Regions from separate parts of the Homo sapiens genome. Here regions 1 and 3 are each linked to region 2. The links are contacts of gene promoters, found by promoter capture Hi-C in blood cells and fetal thymus (Javierre and others, 2016). All regions are on one chromosome and are shown on one strand. Each heading gives the region's core, a stretch centred on a gene start or on the middle of the fragment in contact. The rest is flanking DNA. Distances are from core to core; before and after follow the strand shown. Region 1 overlaps ADARB1 (adenosine deaminase RNA specific B1). Region 2 holds the start of LINC01547 (long intergenic non-protein coding RNA 1547). Region 3 overlaps ADARB1 (adenosine deaminase RNA specific B1).

Region 1 (3,289 bases), core at 164-2,663, 180 kb after region 2:
CTCCACCTTCTGGGCTCAAGCAATACTCCTGTTATCAGCCTCTTGAGTAGCTTGGACCACAGTCACGTGCCACATTGACTGATTAATTTTTAAATTTTTTGTAGAGGTGGGGTCTTGCCGTGTTGCCCAGACTGGTCTCGAACTCCTAGGCTCAAGCCATCCTCCCACCTTGGCCTCCCAAAGTGCTGAGCACACCACTGTGCCTAGCCTAAAAGCCTTTTTAGATCACTCTCAGTGGCAAAATTAGTGCCTTGGTCACCTTTACCAGTAGCTGTTCTTGCTCTCCAGTGGAAATATCACTCAACATTATCAAAGAATCGGGATGAAATTAAATGAACCAGTTTAGGTACTTTTGATACAGAAGTTCTTATGAGACGTGTTGTTCTTTACTATGTAAGAGTGTGGCCATAAACTTAAAAATAGCTGGGTAACTTTGTTACACTTGCCTTGATGGTGTGTTGCAAGTTAGTTAAATTTCATATACTCTTAATCAGCACATCACCAACAAATAAAATGTTACTGCTGCATCAGAATTTAGAGGAGGTTCTATACATCTGTTTCGAAATAAAGACGGAGATGACTTAGGGTACTTATAAGTTGTTGAAAAATCATGGCTCCTGAAACTATGAATTGTCATCGTGGTATATACCCAGACAGCCCACATTAAACTGCTGTGAACATGAGAAAATGGACATCGAAATGATAAAAGCAAGAGTGTTGGTAATTGAAATCCATTATAAATAAAGCTGTCATTGGTAACGCACGAAATGCTGTTTCTGAGGATGAGGACTTTGTGGCCCCCACGTGGGCGCATTACCAAGCTTTGCAGCTCTGCACAGGAGCCTCCCTTCTTGATACTGAACTAGACCTCTATAAAGCCTAGTAACACCTCAGGTTTAGGTTATAAATCTTAAATTTTAGTGCCCCGTAATAATTCACTTCGTAGGTTACCATGGACTAGCCCTTAGTTGCACTGAGAAAAGAAAGGCTATGAAATTTTGTTGGTGAAGTGCCAAAGAAAGGATTGGGTTTTGGGTCATCTCACAGCCCATGGTGAGGGCTGTCTTTGGCCTCTACCGCACGGACAAGTTTGCATGTCAGATGTTGGCACACTTGTGGGGTATTGGGTTCTTTTGAATATCTGATTAAATCCATTTACATTTTCGTTAGAAAAATTCATCTGTGCATATGAACGCATCATTTCATATATGATTTCACACTTCTCATTGTCTTCCTGAAGCCCATTCGTGAACTGTCGATTGAATGCCTGCTCTGGAGAGGAGTGTGAAGCTGCACTTCTTCCGTCTCCTCCTGGCACTCGCTCAGGATCCTCACAGGTGTGGAAAACACTCTAAGGAAGCCTGCGAAGGCCAGATGTCTCCCTTTTGCCTTCTTTGGTTCTGTTCATGATGGCCTTATCACGGACACACTAGGACCCTCTGAGGACACCACCCCTGCCACCGCATTGCTCTGGGGGCAACTTCCGAGCTTATTGTCTTCCTCCAGCAAGGGCAGGAATGTGGAGAAGCTGTGTGTGCTGGGCCTTTACTTTCATTATTGGCGACAATGTTTGTTTTCATTTTATCAGCTTTCTTTATCCTCCATTTTTTTATCTTCCACAGGTAGTGTATATTTTGAGAACAGCGTGAGGTTTATTCTACTAATGGAAATTTACAAAAATACCAGTTTGAATGATTGAGAAATCTAAGTTAAAGAACCCTTGAATAGAAATGTCGCTGTTCAGTGCGTTGATCGATTCTCACATCTGAAGCCAGCTGTGTATTCTTGGTATGTGTGTATTCAACTCAGGTGTGACCTACTGTCTTTTATATGTCCCTGGATTTAAATATGCTAATTTTGTTATGATTTTTGTGTCTACATTTGTAAAAGCCGCTGATAGTTCATGTCTGGCACATTCTTGACAGATTTTACTACCGAGATTATACTGGGCTCGTAAAACGAGTGGGGGATGTTCCCTGTTTTTTTGTTCGCTGGAACGGTATGTGTAAGCTTTGTGCTTTTCCTTTATTCAGCCAGTGCTTTCACATGCTGCTTCCTTTTATAGCCACTCTTTTTTGCTACATATTCTTTCTCTACAAGAGCACAGTTCTTCTGGAATGTGTCCCTTAGGATTAACTATCTCAGGTGTGATTTGTGTGAAAACATCTTTATTCTTATTGTGGAAAGACTGTTGTTAGGTGGGGAGTTTACTTTCCCGTCTGCACATTGAAGATCTCATCCTGCTCCACTACTGGTCTCTTCCCTGGGCCCTGGGCATCCGCTCTCAGCCTGACTGTCCCCCTGTGCTCCCGCATCATTTCTCTGTGCTGTGTCTGGGTTCATGCTTATTTGTATTTATTCTGCTGCGGGTTAGTTGGCCGAATCTGTTTCTGTGAGAGCTCCCATGCTTTTGGTACTTTCTGTCTCTCGTGTGTCTCTGCACTGCTTTCTGGGTTATTGCTTCGGTTCTACTGCCCAGTTTGGCCATTTTCTCTTTAACTGTGTCTAATATGCTGCTAAAACCTGTCCACTGAGCTTTTAGCGTTAGTCATTATAGCTATTATTTCTGGAGGGTCTCTCTGCTTCCCTGTCCTGCCAAGTCCAATTGGTCATTCTTAGTTTACCTGTTTACTAACTGTTTGTATCTCCTTTAGCCGTTGTTTTCTGTACGTATATGGTGTGTTTGACTTTTCCAGCATGTTCAAGGCTGTTTTCCCAGCTGTATCCCCTCCTCTCGGGCCATCAACTTTTTGTTCCCCATTGTTGCTACTAATTCTTAGGACTAATAAAGCACTTCAAATGGCAGCTACTGTCAAAAATTAGGAAGAAGGCTTCTTTGCCGTAGCAGCCTCCAGTTGATTACTTTCTCTTGACCTGTACTTTACTTGCCACGAGCATATCATGCCTCTGTACTTGCTGCAGTAATTACTGTCTCGAAACAGTGAAATCTCATCAGTTGCCCATATGTGTTTAACTGCACACGCGTGCATAGTCTTGGCTTTATGCGAGGTAGAAAATGAGAGTACTTAGTTTTTGGCAGAGCAGAGCCTCAATTTCCACAGTCTAATTAAATTATAATGATAAATATCACTTTAAAAGGAAACAGTTGCTTCGTTTAATCAATATGATTATTACTGGCACAGCAAATCCATCAAGTGCTGTGAATGATAAATGTGTTTTAATACAACTTGCAGTGTACTTGCTGTTGGTACAAGGCATGTTAAATCCTCAGTGGTCCCTCTTTTCATAGCATTGCTGTGGCACTGGCATTTCCCTTTGTTAGGAGATA
Region 2 (3,514 bases), core at 373-2,872:
TTCTCCACGTTGGTCAGGCTGGTCTCAGACTCCTGACCTCAGGTGATCCGCCTGCCTCAGCCTCCCAAAGTGCTGGGATTACAGGCGTGGGCCACCACGCCCAGCCAGAATATGTTCTTTAAAAACAGGCACAATTCCATGAAGTAAACTCACATTGGAATGGTTAACAGGTAAAGTGATCCAGCTGGCTGAAACAATAGGCATTCACCGGCATCCAAAGTACATAAAGATGAGCACTTTGAGACTGCGCCACTGCACTCCAGCCTGGGCGACAGAGTGAGACTCTCTCACCAAAAAAAAAACGTGAGCACTTTCACCTCAAGAGTCGCTAGGCTCAGATGCTGAATGCACCCTGAAGGAACTCTAAAGATACCAGCCTCTGGAGTTTTCACAGCCAACAGCATTCCTAGGTAGACTGGTTGAGAACACGGCTAGTTGGAGGGTAAAAAGAATGACTTGTGAATGCTCACTAGGTCTTTGAATATGTAAGTAGACACGACTTCAAGCCAGTTGCTCAGCCTTGAATATATCCTAGAGTCCATCACCTTGGGCTGTGAGTGGCTTGTGCGGTCATCTGTCCATCTCTCAGCTGGGCGAGAAACTTGATGTCCTTTCTGAGAGGTGGCCCTGGCTCTGCCTGGGACCTGCTACTCTTCTCCAAAGTGCATTTTTTGTGGGTGGGTTTTCACTGTGGGTCCTGGGCAGGTGAGTGCTGGTGCCCAGTGTTGGGGAGCAGGGTAGATAGAGGTGTGGCTGCTACCTGGCTGGGCCCGGACTTGGCAGCCTTCCTTCATGGCCCTCAGCCACAGCCTGTTCCATAGTTTGTTCTCGATGTGTCAGCTTTGTGTTCCCATGAGAACAATGGGCTCCTTGAGGACAGGCATTGCATCGTACCTGTGGTCTCTTCCCTAACGCCCCCCAGTACGCCCAGCATAGACAGCACAGGGTGCAAGCAGTCAGATGAGCAGGGCTCCCGTTCCCAGCACGGGACCCAGCCCGTTACCTCGCTGCTATGTTTCCCACGTAAACGGAGCAATACCCAATTCTAAAGAACTGTTCTGAGGACTAAATGGAATAGTGTAAAAAATAAATTGACATGAAGTGAAGGTCAATTAAAATGCACTAGCTTGGCCAGGCGCAGTGTGGCTCATGCCTGTAATCCCAGCGCTTTGGGAGGCCGAGGAGGGAGGATCGCTGGAGCCCAGGAGTTTAAGACCAGCCAGACAACACAGCAAGATCCCGGCTCTAGCAAAACATTAATAAAAATTAGCCGGGCGTGGCGGTGCCCACCGGTGGTCCCACCTTCTCGAGAGGCTGAGGCGGGAGGATCGCTCGAGTCCTGGACGTCGAGGCTGCAATGAGCCGATTTCGCGCCATTGCGCTCCAGCCTGGGCGACAGCGCGAGACTCCTTCTCAAATATAGAATTTTAAAAAGGCCATCTCGACTGCCGCGGGGGTCGCGTCCTCTCCATCCCCGACCTTGGACGCAACCCCGGGCTTGGGTCCCCCACGATCTAGACAGAAACTCGTTGTTTCTCGTGCTCCGCGCCACCCGCGTCCTCCGGTCTGTTTCTCCCAGGTGCGTCGGTGAAAGGCGGAGCGCCGCCACCCTACACCCGCGACCCTGCGCCCGCCCGAGCCGCTTCCGGGTACTTCCGGCGGCCGCGGGGCTCCCGGCAGCCGCGGCTCCTGTTTCCGCCGGGCGGCGAGAACGCAGGACCAGCTTCCGGGAGGCGCTCCGCACGTTTGCCGTGCTCCGCCGGGAAGATGGGGAAAGTGAGGGGGTTGCGCGCCCGAGTGCACCAGGCTGCCGTGAGGCCGAAAGGGGAGGCCGCCCCCGGCCCCGCGCCCCCTGCCCCGGAGGCGACCCCTCCGCCGGCCTCGGCCGCGGGGAAGGTGAGCTGGGGAGGCGCTGGCCGGGGGCTGCCGCGTGGGTCCGAGGGCGGGTGAGCTGCGGGGCGCCGCCTCCGGGAGGGTTCCGCGACCCCGGCCTTCCCTCGGGCTCTGCGGGCATTTGCTGCGCTACAGACGCGACCTTCTTGCTTCGCGAAGCGTCGTAAACTCCGAGGCTCCGCTCTGCGCTGCCGTCCTGGGCACACGGACTCGCGCCGCTCCCGGGGAGGGGAGAGAGCCAGGAACCTCCCGCTGCGGTCCAGGGTTGCCACGCGGACCCCAGAGGTTCCTGAATCGCACTGAGCTCCCCGGAAAGGAAAGGACGTTCCCAGAGTTAGAGAAGAACGGAGAGCAAACTGAAGAGAGACCCCGTTCCCTTTAGCAGTCGGCTGGCCTGTTTCTCCATCCCCCTCAGCCCTAAGCAAGCACGAATCTACCTTTTGTCTTTATTCTAGACACTGCATGTGAGTGGAATTATTGCTTTCAGGATTTTTTTTTTTTTTTGGCTTTTGCCTTAAATATTTTGACCGATGTGTCTTGGTGTAGGTATCTGCATTTATTTTGCGTGTTCACTGAGCTTCTTGCGTGTGTAGGTTAATGTTTTTCGTTACATTGGCAAGTCTTCAGCCATTATTTCCTTGAATATTTTTTTCTGCCCCTTTCTGTCACTCCTCTCTTTCGGATACTTCCATTATAAATATGTACGTCGTGCTTAATGGTGTCCCACAGTGCTCTGAGGCGCTGTTCACTCAGTTTTTCTCTTTTCTTCAGATGGCATAATCTATCTTAATTCAAGTTTACTGATGTTCTGCCAGCCCAGAGGTGCTTTTGAACCTTTCCAGTGAAATTTTCATTTTTTTTGACTCCAGAATTTATTTACTTTCTTTCTCTTCTCCTGTTCCTCCTCATTTTAAAAAATACTCTTTACTGATGTTTTCTGTTTGATGTGAGAATGTCATTATACCTTCGTTTAGTTCTTTAGACACGGTCTCTTTTAGTCCTTAGAAATATTTATAATGCCTACTCTGAATTCTTTACATGTGGGCTGCTCAAAGCAGTTTCTGTTGCCTGGCTCATGCTGGCAGGTAGGAGCAGGTGGGCCTTCTTTGAATGTATCACTTTTTGTGGAAAATTGGGCATTTTGGATAGTCCTGTAGCAACCAGGGATTAGTATCTGCTTGATTACTTTGTTTATTGATCTGGAACTGAACTATGTGACCTCTCTCCTTGTCCCCTTCTGGCTGTGTGCAGCCTCTGATGTGCCCCCTTGGTTTTTTTTTTTTCTTCCTGTTTTTCTCTTTTAGCCTGGCTAGTTGGATCTGCTTAAGCTCCTCACTGGTCAGCAATTGTTCTTAAAGCCTCCTTGGCCAGGGGGTTTTTGCCTTTTACCACTGGATACCTCTGGCTTGGAGGTGGCTGTCAGATTCAGCGTGTTCACATTTTTGACCTTCATTTCTGCCCTCAGAGGCACAGCCAAGGACTAGTAGCTTACAGAGTCCCTCTGCTCACTCCTGGTAGGGTGCGTCCTTGAACATGCGCACAGCCTCCAGACTGCCAGGGATGCGACCTCCTGGGAGTTGTTCCTGGGTCAGAGGGGCTTACTGTCTACCCAGGAGCCTTG
Region 3 (3,354 bases), core at 188-2,687, 160 kb after region 2:
AGGTCAGGAGTTTGAGACCAGCCTGGCCAACATGGTGAAACCCTATCTCTACTAAAAGTACAAAAAAAATTAGCTGGGTGTGGTGGCGCACACCTGTGATCCCAGCGAGCAGGAGGCTGATACATGAGAATCACTTGAACCTTGGGAGGGGACCACTCCAGCCTGGGTGACAGAGCGAGACTCTGTCTCAAAAAAATAAAAAATAAAAATTTACAATTTATGTTAAAATATGTCATTTTAAGTTATGTAAATCCAAGCATAATTACTGAACACAAGGCTCAATCCAAAACATGCACAGTAAGCCCGTGTGAAGTGTTCACATGCTGTTCTGAGGCTGGCTGGATCTGGAGTTTCTGGGAGTGCTCTCTTGGGCTGGCACGTCTTGGGCTGTGGGGGCCCTGAAGCCCTCCTAGATGCTGGACATTGGTGTGTGTGCAACTTGGTGGTGGTGTTGGGGTTACTTTCCAGAAGCTACTCAAGGCTTAGTCTCAGTTTCTATCTAAAGATATTTATATGGGAAGTATTCCAAATGTGGATTTATAAAGATAACACATGGATAGAAATAGTGTAAAACTTGTGTGAACTGAACCAGCCAAGCTTCTAGTCTTCCCTTTCCAAAACTTTCCTTTTTCTCCCCCCGTGTTAAAGATTTAAAAATATATGTTTAAAAAGGTCACTTTTAACTTGTAAAAATTATTCAACATATACAGAAATTTAAAAAGCAGCATTGCAGGTTATGTGAGATTATGTATGTCTGCTCTTTGGAACTAGGTTGAAATGATAGCTACAAGGTTCTTTGGAAGAATGGGGATGTGTGGGTGAGAGTGGAGTAGACAGGCTGGGCTTACTAACTAGGCTTGCACTGGCCCCCGTCAGTCACTGTTCCCAAGTCAAATACTGCATTGCACTGAACACCAGAGCAGCAGTGCATTTCCTAGAGAACTCTGCAAGGCTACAGGTGGCAGACTTAGGGAGCGCTTGCCATCCCTGCCCTTCCCAGCTCTACCCAGAACAAGGAGGCCTCGCACACTACCTGGTCATATTTTGACTTCATGCATTTAATGAACCAAACTAAAGGTAAATATTTTCTTTTGATTCCCAAGGCAGACTTGTGGGTACCCAAGTTCCTCAGCCCATCTTTAACTCAGTAGGATGTGGCATCTCCATTGAGGCTCTTCATGGAATCCCTGGAGGTGAAACCTCGGTGTCCGGTTGCTCCAAACCAGTGCTGGTGGGATTCAGTTTTCTGGACCCATTTCTGGGTGAAGTCAAGGAATGGAGGCGGGCGGCTGTCAAGCGTCTCTGTTGCTCAATGGGGCAGGCCAGTCCCAGCGGCGACTTAGAGGTGGCTGGCTGGGCGTCCCTACAGGAGAATGGGCCACAGGGCCAGCGGGGCCAGCAGGATGAGCAGGCCTGGTTTGGGGTATGGGCCGCAGGCGTGGAGCTCGATGCTGGGCAGGGGCCTGCTCACTGACGAGTTGCCACCCGGGATTGGGGTAGGGGTGGGCGCGGTGGTCTCGGGCTCTGAGCGGCTCTGCACCGGCAGGAGCAGGACTGGCAGCAGCAGCAGCAGCGCCAGTGCGGATCGGGCCGCCATGGCCAAGCGCTCCGGCTCGTCCCGTAGCAGTGCCGCGGCGGCGGCCGCTGCCGGGAGTGTCTGTTCCGCGGTTACGCGGGGTCCTCTCCGGTCCTGTCCAGTGAGGTCCTGACAGCTGTACCCTGGCCCAACCCCTGCCCACGGCTGTTAACGATCAGCCTCGGGGAGCAGGTGTGCCGCCACGCGCGCCGTAGCGCTCCGGAGCTGGCTCTGCGCTCACGTGCTCGCTGTGCCCTGCGCGCGGGCGGGCCGTGTCCCCGCAGCCCCGCGCCTGGCGCTGCCAAGCTGCCCAGCGGGCTTTAGCAGGTGCTGAAATGCCCGCTGCCAGTCGCCGAGTGCTGGGTGCAGAGGATCTCTCCAGACACCTAGGCTCCCTTCTTTCGCGGCACGTGGGAAAAACTCCTGAAGTGCGTGCACAGAGTTTTTGTTTTAGAGGCTTTGACGTTATGATTAAGTATACCTGTGATGTAACGAAAACCTTTTTTAATGCTTCTCAAAAGATTTGCTAGCGTTTAACATTTACCTCCTGTACTGGAGTTTAAAGGAAGCGTTGCTTCTTAAGTAATCAGTGATCCTTTTGCTTTTGGAAATTGTAATGAACTTCACCATCGTAGAGCTTTAATATTTCTTTCCTGAAGCAGAAAGCATGTGAAATTTTCTGGATAGTGTATACTTAATACACAAGCTTTTGGAGTTTTTGAATGCTGGGTATGTTAGCACACCAGTCTTGCTGACTATTACGTGGGAGATGAGTGCTGCTTAAAATTGTGTAAGGGGTCAGTAGTTACAGTGGTGGACATACTTTTGCCAGACATGGTTTATTTTAAAGTGAACATATTTTGTGCTTATTTATTTATTTGGGACAGGGTCTCACTCTGTTACTCAGGCTGGAGTGCAGTGGTAATCATGGTTCACTGCAGCCTCAACTTCCAGGCTCAAGTGATCCTCCCACCTCAGCCTCCTGAGTAGCTGGGACTGTGGGGCTACAGGCGCACTACCACACCCAGCTAACTTTTTTTATTTTTTGTAGAGACGGAGTCTTGCTGTGTTGCCCAGGCTAGACTTGAACTCCTGGCGTCAAGCGATCCTCCCTCTTCGGCCTCCCAAGTTGCTGGGATTACAGATGTGAGCCACCATGCCTGGCCAATGTGCTTATTTTAATTCTAAATCAGAATTTCTATAATTATCTTCCTTACCTTGGTGTCTGTCTGTTATCAGCACAAGGGTTTAAAATAATTTTTGATTTCTTGGAAGTAATTACGCAGGCAGTTCAATGGGAGAAGGCACTTTCCTCAGCACATTTGGGGTGCTGTTGTCAGAAAGAAGGGGATGGATTCAAGTCAGCAAAACCAGCTGTAACCACAACTATATTTTTTAAACATGTAGCTGCATGTTCCATAAAACAGCATATAAAAAATAGAGTGAGCATTCTTTATTGGAGAAATAGCTGATTCTAGGACTGGGCAGGAAATAACACAAGTGCCAGGAATGCCAAGGAAATGGCAAGGAAATGCCGAGAAACAAACATAACCACACCCACATCAATGGGTGGTGTCAAAGGGACCCAGGAGCCAACTGAAAGAGCTCCCAGTGGCCAAAGCTGGAACAGTTTCTACAACAAAACAAAGTAGTATTGGATTATAGCCCAGAGATAAATAAATATCCATGAGTCCAGACTGACATAAATAAATGACTGATAAATGAGGAGAAAAGACAAAGCTCCTTTTCCAGCACAATTCCAGATCATCTCTGCATCT

What was found. The method cuts DNA at HindIII sites, captures the fragments that hold promoters and counts their contacts. A CHiCAGO score of 5 or more calls a contact.
Region 1: a fragment that was not itself captured here is called in contact with the fragment with the promoter of LINC01547 in region 2 in 4 of 17 cell types (naive CD8 T cells, M1 macrophages, M2 macrophages and 1 more); the score reaches 5.8 in naive CD8 T cells.
Region 3: a contact is called between a fragment that was not itself captured here and the fragment with the promoter of LINC01547 in region 2, in 2 of 17 cell types (M0 macrophages and M1 macrophages). The highest score is 5.4, in M0 macrophages.

The regions. Positions count from the first base shown.
Region 1 is chr21:45,119,172-45,122,460 of GRCh38, forward strand. The region is part of intron 1 of ADARB1 (adenosine deaminase RNA specific B1); the gene reads left to right. Among named protein-coding and RNA genes, the nearest start is that of ADARB1, 46 kb to the left of the region's middle. The HindIII fragment of the contact is 1,189 bases long and covers 820-2,008 here.
Region 2 is chr21:44,938,291-44,941,804 of GRCh38, forward strand. It overlaps LINC01547 (long intergenic non-protein coding RNA 1547), which reads right to left and starts at 1,623. Exons shown (of 4, transcript NR_027128.1): 1 at 1,303-1,623. SLX9 (SLX9 ribosome biogenesis factor) reads left to right here and starts at 1,739. Exons shown (of 6, transcript NM_058190.4): 1 at 1,739-1,896. The coding sequence starts at 1,768. RefSeq lists enhancers at 1,425-1,989, 2,174-2,223, 2,254-2,333 and a silencer at 1,564-2,083. The HindIII fragment of the contact is 6,939 bases long and covers 1-3,514 here.
Region 3 is chr21:45,099,450-45,102,803 of GRCh38, forward strand. All of the region lies in intron 1 of ADARB1 (adenosine deaminase RNA specific B1), which reads left to right. Among named protein-coding and RNA genes, the nearest start is that of ADARB1, 27 kb to the left of the region's middle. The HindIII fragment of the contact is 1,685 bases long and covers 596-2,280 here.